Regions from separate parts of the Homo sapiens genome. Here region 2 is linked to region 1. Evidence: promoter capture Hi-C in 16 types of primary human blood cells and fetal thymus (Javierre and others, 2016). All regions are on one chromosome and are shown on one strand. The core of a region is centred on a gene start or on the middle of the fragment in contact, and the rest is flanking DNA. Distances in the headings are between cores, read along the strand shown.

The links. The method cuts DNA at HindIII sites, captures the fragments that hold promoters and counts their contacts. A CHiCAGO score of 5 or more calls a contact.
Region 2: a fragment that was not itself captured here is called in contact with the fragment with the promoter of ARF6 in region 1 in 1 of 17 cell types (non-activated CD4 T cells); the score reaches 5.6 in non-activated CD4 T cells.

Annotation. Positions count from the first base shown.
Region 1 is chr14:49,891,557-49,894,894 of GRCh38, reverse strand. It overlaps ARF6 (ARF GTPase 6), which reads right to left and starts at 1,813. Exons shown (of 2, transcript NM_001663.4): 1 at 1,738-1,813; 2 at 1-1,639. The coding sequence starts at 1,158. The coding sequence ends at 631. RefSeq lists enhancers at 884-933, 964-1,283, 2,154-2,253 and silencers at 1,444-1,633, 1,674-2,063. The HindIII fragment of the contact is 6,329 bases long and covers 1-3,338 here.
Region 2 is chr14:50,176,119-50,179,369 of GRCh38, reverse strand. The region is part of intron 7 of SOS2 (SOS Ras/Rho guanine nucleotide exchange factor 2); the gene reads left to right. Among named protein-coding and RNA genes, the nearest start is that of SOS2, 54 kb to the left of the region's middle. The HindIII fragment of the contact is 5,834 bases long and covers 1-3,251 here.

The DNA.
Region 1 (3,338 bases), core at 564-3,063:
TTGCCACTGTGGGCTAAGTTTACTATACTGGTCTTAGATATAAAAGGTCACATTTGAAATTACTAAGTTAGAACTCATAAGGAAGGGGGGGGAAGGCCTTAAATATAAAAGACAAACGGCAGTTTGATTAAGCAATAATTTTCAGTTTACTAGATGAAACAGACTTGCAACATAGTCTGCATGAATGCAAAATAAGCCATCTACAGCAAGTGATAAGGAAACTGGGCAAAAAAGGAAAAAAGCATACATAGGAAAATGAAAGATTCTCTCGAAATAAAAAAATCAAACTATTATTACAAAGGACTTTACCAAGAACTGCTGTGTTTCCCCCATCCCATCTGCTGGAAGTCAACAAGAGCATCTAGCAACTTTGTGTTCATGTCAAATGTCAGATCAGAGCATCCTAACGCAAAGCCAACAAAAAAAAAAAAAAAAAAAAAAGGAAAAAGAAAGGGAAACAAACAAAAGAGAAAACCCCCAAGCCCCGTCCCCGCCAAACTGTAGAACAGTAACTCCAGAGTTCAAATTCAAAAGAAGAGAAAGTGGCAATTGAAAGAGGTGATGGTGGCGATAATCCTATGAATGGGTTTTTGATTTCTCTCCTTCCAGGGGATGGGTGGAGAATGCTCATTAAGATTTGTAGTTAGAGGTTAACCATGTGAGCCCCTCATAGAGTCCGTCCCCTGAGGTGGCACAGGAGGGCTGCACATACCAGTTCCTGTCCCGAATCCGGGTCAGGCCCAGTTTCTCCTGGATCTCGTGGGGTTTCATGGCATCGGGCAGGTCCTGCTTGTTGGCGAAGATGAGGATTATGGCGTCCCTCATCTCCCGGTCATTGATAATGCGGTGCAGCTCCTGGCGAGCCTCATCGATGCGGTCGCGGTCGGCGCAGTCCACTACGAAGATGAGACCTTGGGTCCCAGTGTAGTAATGCCGCCAGAGCGGCCGGATCTTGTCCTGGCCGCCCACATCCCATACGTTGAACTTGACATTTTTGTAAGTCACCGTCTCCACGTTGAAACCCACAGTGGGAATGGTGGTCACCGACTGGCCCAGCTTCAACTTGTACAGGATTGTTGTCTTGCCGGCCGCGTCCAGGCCCAACATGAGGATCCGCATTTCCTTGTTCCCGAAGATTTTGGATAGCACCTTCCCCATCGCGTCGGAGGAGCCGGGGCCGGGGGCATTCAGGTGTCCCGGGTCCCCTCAGCCAACAACGCCGCCGCCGCCGCGAAACCGAAACGAAGCCTCTCGGCCGCGAGAGCGCCTTTGCGGCCTGCGTGGGAGTTGCCTCCTAAGGGCAGAGGCCCAGGCCCCCCGCTCACTCGGGCATCACCGACCGCACAACTTGATTTCTCCAGTCGCCGCCGCCACCCGGGCCCTGAGACTGCGCTGGGAGCCGCCGCCCTGCTGAGGCGCGGCCCGGCCCGGAACTGCCCTTCCCCCCGCAGGCGCCGCGCGAGCGCCGCCGCGGTTCCCGCTCCTCCGCCTTCCTCTCACCGCGAGGGAGACTGCAGCCCTCCGGCCCGCCCGCCGGCCTGCGAGCACTGGGCTCCCCACCGACCCAGGACACCCGAGAGGCAGCGCGGCTCCGGGGCCCCGTCAGGTCATGGATCCTCGCGGGAACTCGGTGCGCTGCCTGCAGAGAAACAGAGAGGGAGGGGAGTTACTGCCAGAGCTCCACAAAGGAGCGAAGACCGAGGTGGCCCGCCTTTCCAGCTCGGCCCAAGGGGTTACCTCCAGCCGCCGCCCCGAGCGCGGGCTCCCTCCGGCCTCCAACTCCTCCTCCCAGTTCTGCCGCCGCCGCTGCCGGAAAAGGCGCCGAGGAAACCGCCTCACTTCCCCTCCCGACCACGCAGGCGCAGCAGAGGCCGACCGTTCGGACAAGAGCGACCTCTGTAAGGAGAGCGGCCCGCGCGCCTAGCGTCATGGGCGCCACGCGCCGGAGGGGCGGGGCTACGGCGCCTCGGAGGGCTCGCAGATGCGGCCGGCCCAGAGCCCTCGAACCTCGGACTCTGACTCGCGCCTACCCGTGGCTCTTCTAGCGTCTCCTTCCCTGCTTTTCTCTTTTGCGCTCTGCCCTCCCCTGCCCACCCGAACCAAGGGAGCAGATCTACTGGGGGGCCCTACAGGGTGGGGCCCACGGGCAGCCCGCTCTCTCCACGAACCGAGCTGCCTCCAGGCCTGTTCCCAGACCTCGGTGCCCGCCAGATGCTCTGCGAATTCCCTCCGCCCGCCCCAGCCTTCCCGCACCCTCCGCGCTCCCTGAACGTCCCAGGGAAGCTCTGTTCGCTTTTGTTTTTTTTTTTTTTCCCTTTTTCGCAACCCCTTCTTGGCTTCCTTTATCCCTTGAATTTTGTATGTTTCCTGAAAGACACGTGGGAGGCCAGTGTCTCGTGTGGAATCTGCCAGTCAGTGCAGCGCTTTCCCGGAGTTGAGTTTACTCTGCAGCTCTTTTGAATGTTTGAGCCCTGTCTGCCTATAGGTCTCGTCAAGACCAGCCCATGTTTCTTAAAAACTGCAGTATTATGAAGAGTTCCTGTGCCTTGCCGCGTTTTCACCTTTTTAGAATGCGACATCTGTTCATCTTTAAAATATCATTTTATCTCATACTGTTAGTAGTAGCTTCTTAACTACTACCCATTCTTAACTTTAAGAAGCATAGAATTTAGAATATAGAACGACCGCTTGTATGGCCTGGATCTGGGCACTTAACCTTACTAAGTTTATCTCGTGTAAACTGACCTTGCTAACTCACGTGAGGCTTAAATAATACAATGTGGAAGACTTCAGGGCACATTTTTGGTTTTTTGGTTTTTGTTTGTTTCTTGAGACGGGGTCTCACTCTGTCGCCCAGGCTGGAGTCCAGTTGCACAATCTCGGCTCACTGCAGCCTCCTCATCCTGGGTTCAAGCAGTTCTGCCTTAGCCTCCGGAGCAGCTGGAATTAGGTCGCCCACCACCACGCCCGGCTAATTTTTGTATTTTTAGTAGAGACGGGGTTTCACCATGTTGGCCAGGCTGGTCTCGAAGTCCTGACCTCAGGTGATCCACCCGCCTCGGCCCCCCAAAATGCTGGGATTACAGGCGTGAGCCACTGCGCCCTGCCAAGGACACATTTTTGTATCAAATGGTTAATGATAAAATTAGACTTAAAATAACGTGAAACCTTCAAATATCAAGGGGAGAAAAACAGGAAATGGGTATCTTTGTTTAAAAAGCAAGATGCTATAAACAGCATATGGTAACATACTGTTTTTATTAAACAAATTTAAAATATTAGATAATGGTAGATAGGTTATATGATAACCTTATAAACGTCATTTCAGTCGGAAATAA
Region 2 (3,251 bases), core at 1-2,500, 290 kb before region 1:
TACCCCTTGACGTTTGAATATGGTAAAAATCCTTATAGTCCTGAAACAAACAAGCAAACAAATGAACAAACCTTTCTTCACTCTAGTAGAATAATTAACTAGAGTGAAGAAAGTTTTTTCATTTCCTCTCTCATTTTTTCTTTGCAGCCAATTGTCTTTATATTATTTTTTACCATTCTTTATGAAAACACTACCATGTATGTTTTAATCAGGATATAAATTGCCTTTGACAAGTAACTTAATTGCCAAATCCAGTGGATATTTTTATTTCATACTTAATGTCTGTAGTATTTGTTACTGCTCTTATCTCTTGGTTCCTGTATACCTGAAGGCTGGGCGTGATGTCTCATGCCTGTAATCCCAGCACTTTGGGAGGCTGAGGTGGGTGGATCGGATCACCTGAGGTCAGGAGTTCCAGACCAGCCTTGCCAGCCTGGCGAAACCCTGTCTCTACTAAAAAATGCAAAAATTAGCTGGGTGTGGTGGCATGCACCTGTAATCCCAGCTACTCGGGAGGCTGAGGCAGGAGAATTGCTTGAACCCGGGAGGCGGAGGTTGCAGTGAGCCGAGATCGTGCCACTACACTCCAGCCTAGGTGACAGAGCAAGACCCTGTCTCCAAAAAATATATATATATATATGTGTGTGTATATGTGTGTATATATATATATATATATATATATATATATATATATATATGCACACACACACACACACACACACTAGCGGGCATGGTGGTGCACACCTGTAGTTCTAGCTACTACAGAGGCAGAGGCAGGAGGATCACTTGGAGGCAGGAGGATCACTTGAACCCAGGAGGTGGGGGTTGCAGTGAGCCGAGATTGCAACACTGCACTCAAGCCTGGGCTACAGAGTGAGACTCTGTCTCAACAAAAAAAAGAAAAAGAAGACTGAGACTGGGTGATTTATAAAGAAAAGAGATTTAATTGGCTCAGAGTTCCACAGGCTCTACAGGAAGCACGGCTGGGGAGGCCTCAGGAAACTTACGATCATGGCGGAAGCCAAAAGGGAAGCAGGCACGTCTTCACATGGTCAAAGCAAGAGGAAGGAGCAGGGAGGTGCCACACACTTTTAAACAACTAGATCTCCTGAGAACTCTATTACAAGAACAGCATTAAAGGAAGAAATCCACCCCCATGATCCAGTTACCTCCCACTAGGCCCCACCTCCAAAATTGGGGATTACAGTTGAACATGAGATTTGGACGGGGACACAAAATCAAACCATATCAGCTCCTGTGATACTACATGTTCCCAATTTTCGTCTTCTCTGATTTCTTCTTCTAAGTCTCTTAATTATTATAGCTATTATCCAACTTCTGTTATCAGCCCCTGTTTTTCTGTTCTGTGCTCTCCTTGGGTGACTTCATGTCTATATACTGGTGACTTCTTATTTGTATTTCCAGGCCATCACTTTCTTTTAAGCACTGTGTACCGTGTACATATGTGTATGTATCTATACACTTTCATATAACCAGCTGCCTTGAATTGATGCACTTGGATACCCTAAACGCACTTCAAATATGACATGTTTAAAACTGAACTTACCATCTTCTCCCTGCCTTCTGTACTATAAATTCCCATTGTTTATTATCTTCCACTTCTCTATTGTCAAAAATTTGTTATCATGGAATACAAATTATACTTAATTCTCAAAATTACTTCAAGAGAGGAATATTTTTAAAGTTAACTCATATATTCATATAAAGTATGCATTAAATACACAGTCTATAAGAACTTTGGATACTCATTAAAAGCACTCAACACATTTCTTGTTTCAGTCCTATTTTATTAGGAATTTTTGCTGTGGAATTTGAATGTTAAAGGGCCCAGTTATTAATAAAGCTGTCATCCTAGATATTCAGTGAAATTGGAAGAGTTAGATGAAATCCTTTTTCGGGCCAAACTCAATTGTTTTAACTTAAAAAAAAATTCATTCAGTTTAAGATAAAATAATGCTTCCTTAATAAAACTAAAAACAAAAAGCATCTTTAGAAGCTGTGTAGCGTACTTTATTTATTTATTTATTTAGAGACAGGGTCTCACTCTGTTGCCCAGGCTGGAGTGCAGTGGCACAGTCTCAGTTCATTGCAACCTCCGCCTCCCGGGTTAAAGCGATTCTCCTGCCTTAGCCTCTTGAGTGACTGAGACTACAAGTGTGGACCACCACGCCTGGCTAATTTTGGTATTTTTTTGGTAGAGACAGAGTTTCACCATATTGGCTAGGCTGTTCTGTTGACCATGAGGCACCATACCTGGACTGTGTAGCAGACTTAAAAAAATAAGATTTGAAGTTAGAACTTAAGGCTTTGGGCCAATTAATAGTTTTGTTTGTTTGTTTGCGGCGGAATCTCGCTCTTTCACCCAGGCTGGAGTGCAGTGGCGCGATCTTGGCTCACTGCAACCTCTGCCTCTTGGGTTTAAGGAGTCCTCCTGCCTCAGCCTCCTAAGTAGCTGGGACTACAGGCGCATGCCACCACACCTGGCTAATTTTTGTATTTTTAGTAGAGATGGGGTTTCCCCATGTTGGCCAGGCTGTTCTCAAACTCTTGACTTCAGGTAATCCTCCTGACTCAGCCTCCCAAAGTGCTGGGATTACAGGCGTGAGCCATCACGCCCAGCCCCAGTTAATGGTTGTGTTACCTTGAGCAATTCACTTAATCTCTGAGACTCAGTTTGCTCATTTGTAAAATGGTGATCATCATAATATATACCTCTTATAGTTATTAGGAAATTAAATGGTAATGTATATATAAAGCATAAGCATAATGTTTGATGTGTATTAAATACTCAAATGTAGCTCCTGTTATTATCAGAGGACTCCTTACACTGTAAATACATGCTACAAAAATTTTAGAATGCACTTTATCAGGCATTTTAGTACAAATAAGCAAAACAGTTGATCTTGTAGACTAATTTTGAAGTTTCATATTGGTTCCAGTTCAAGCACTGTATATAAAATATCCAGAATAATTCACTATATTAATTAGTTTAATACTGTCTTAGTCTATTCAGGCTGCTCTAATAAAATATCATAAACTGGATGGCTTATAAACAATAGAAATTTATTTCTCACAGTTCACATTTAGGAAGTCCCATATCAAGAGGCTAACAGATTTGGTGTCTAGTTTGGTGCCCTAGTGAGGGTTTGCTCTTCTGGTTCATAGATGGTGCTTTCTTGTTGTGTCCTCACATGATGGATAGCACAAACAAGCTCCCTTAGGCCCCTTTT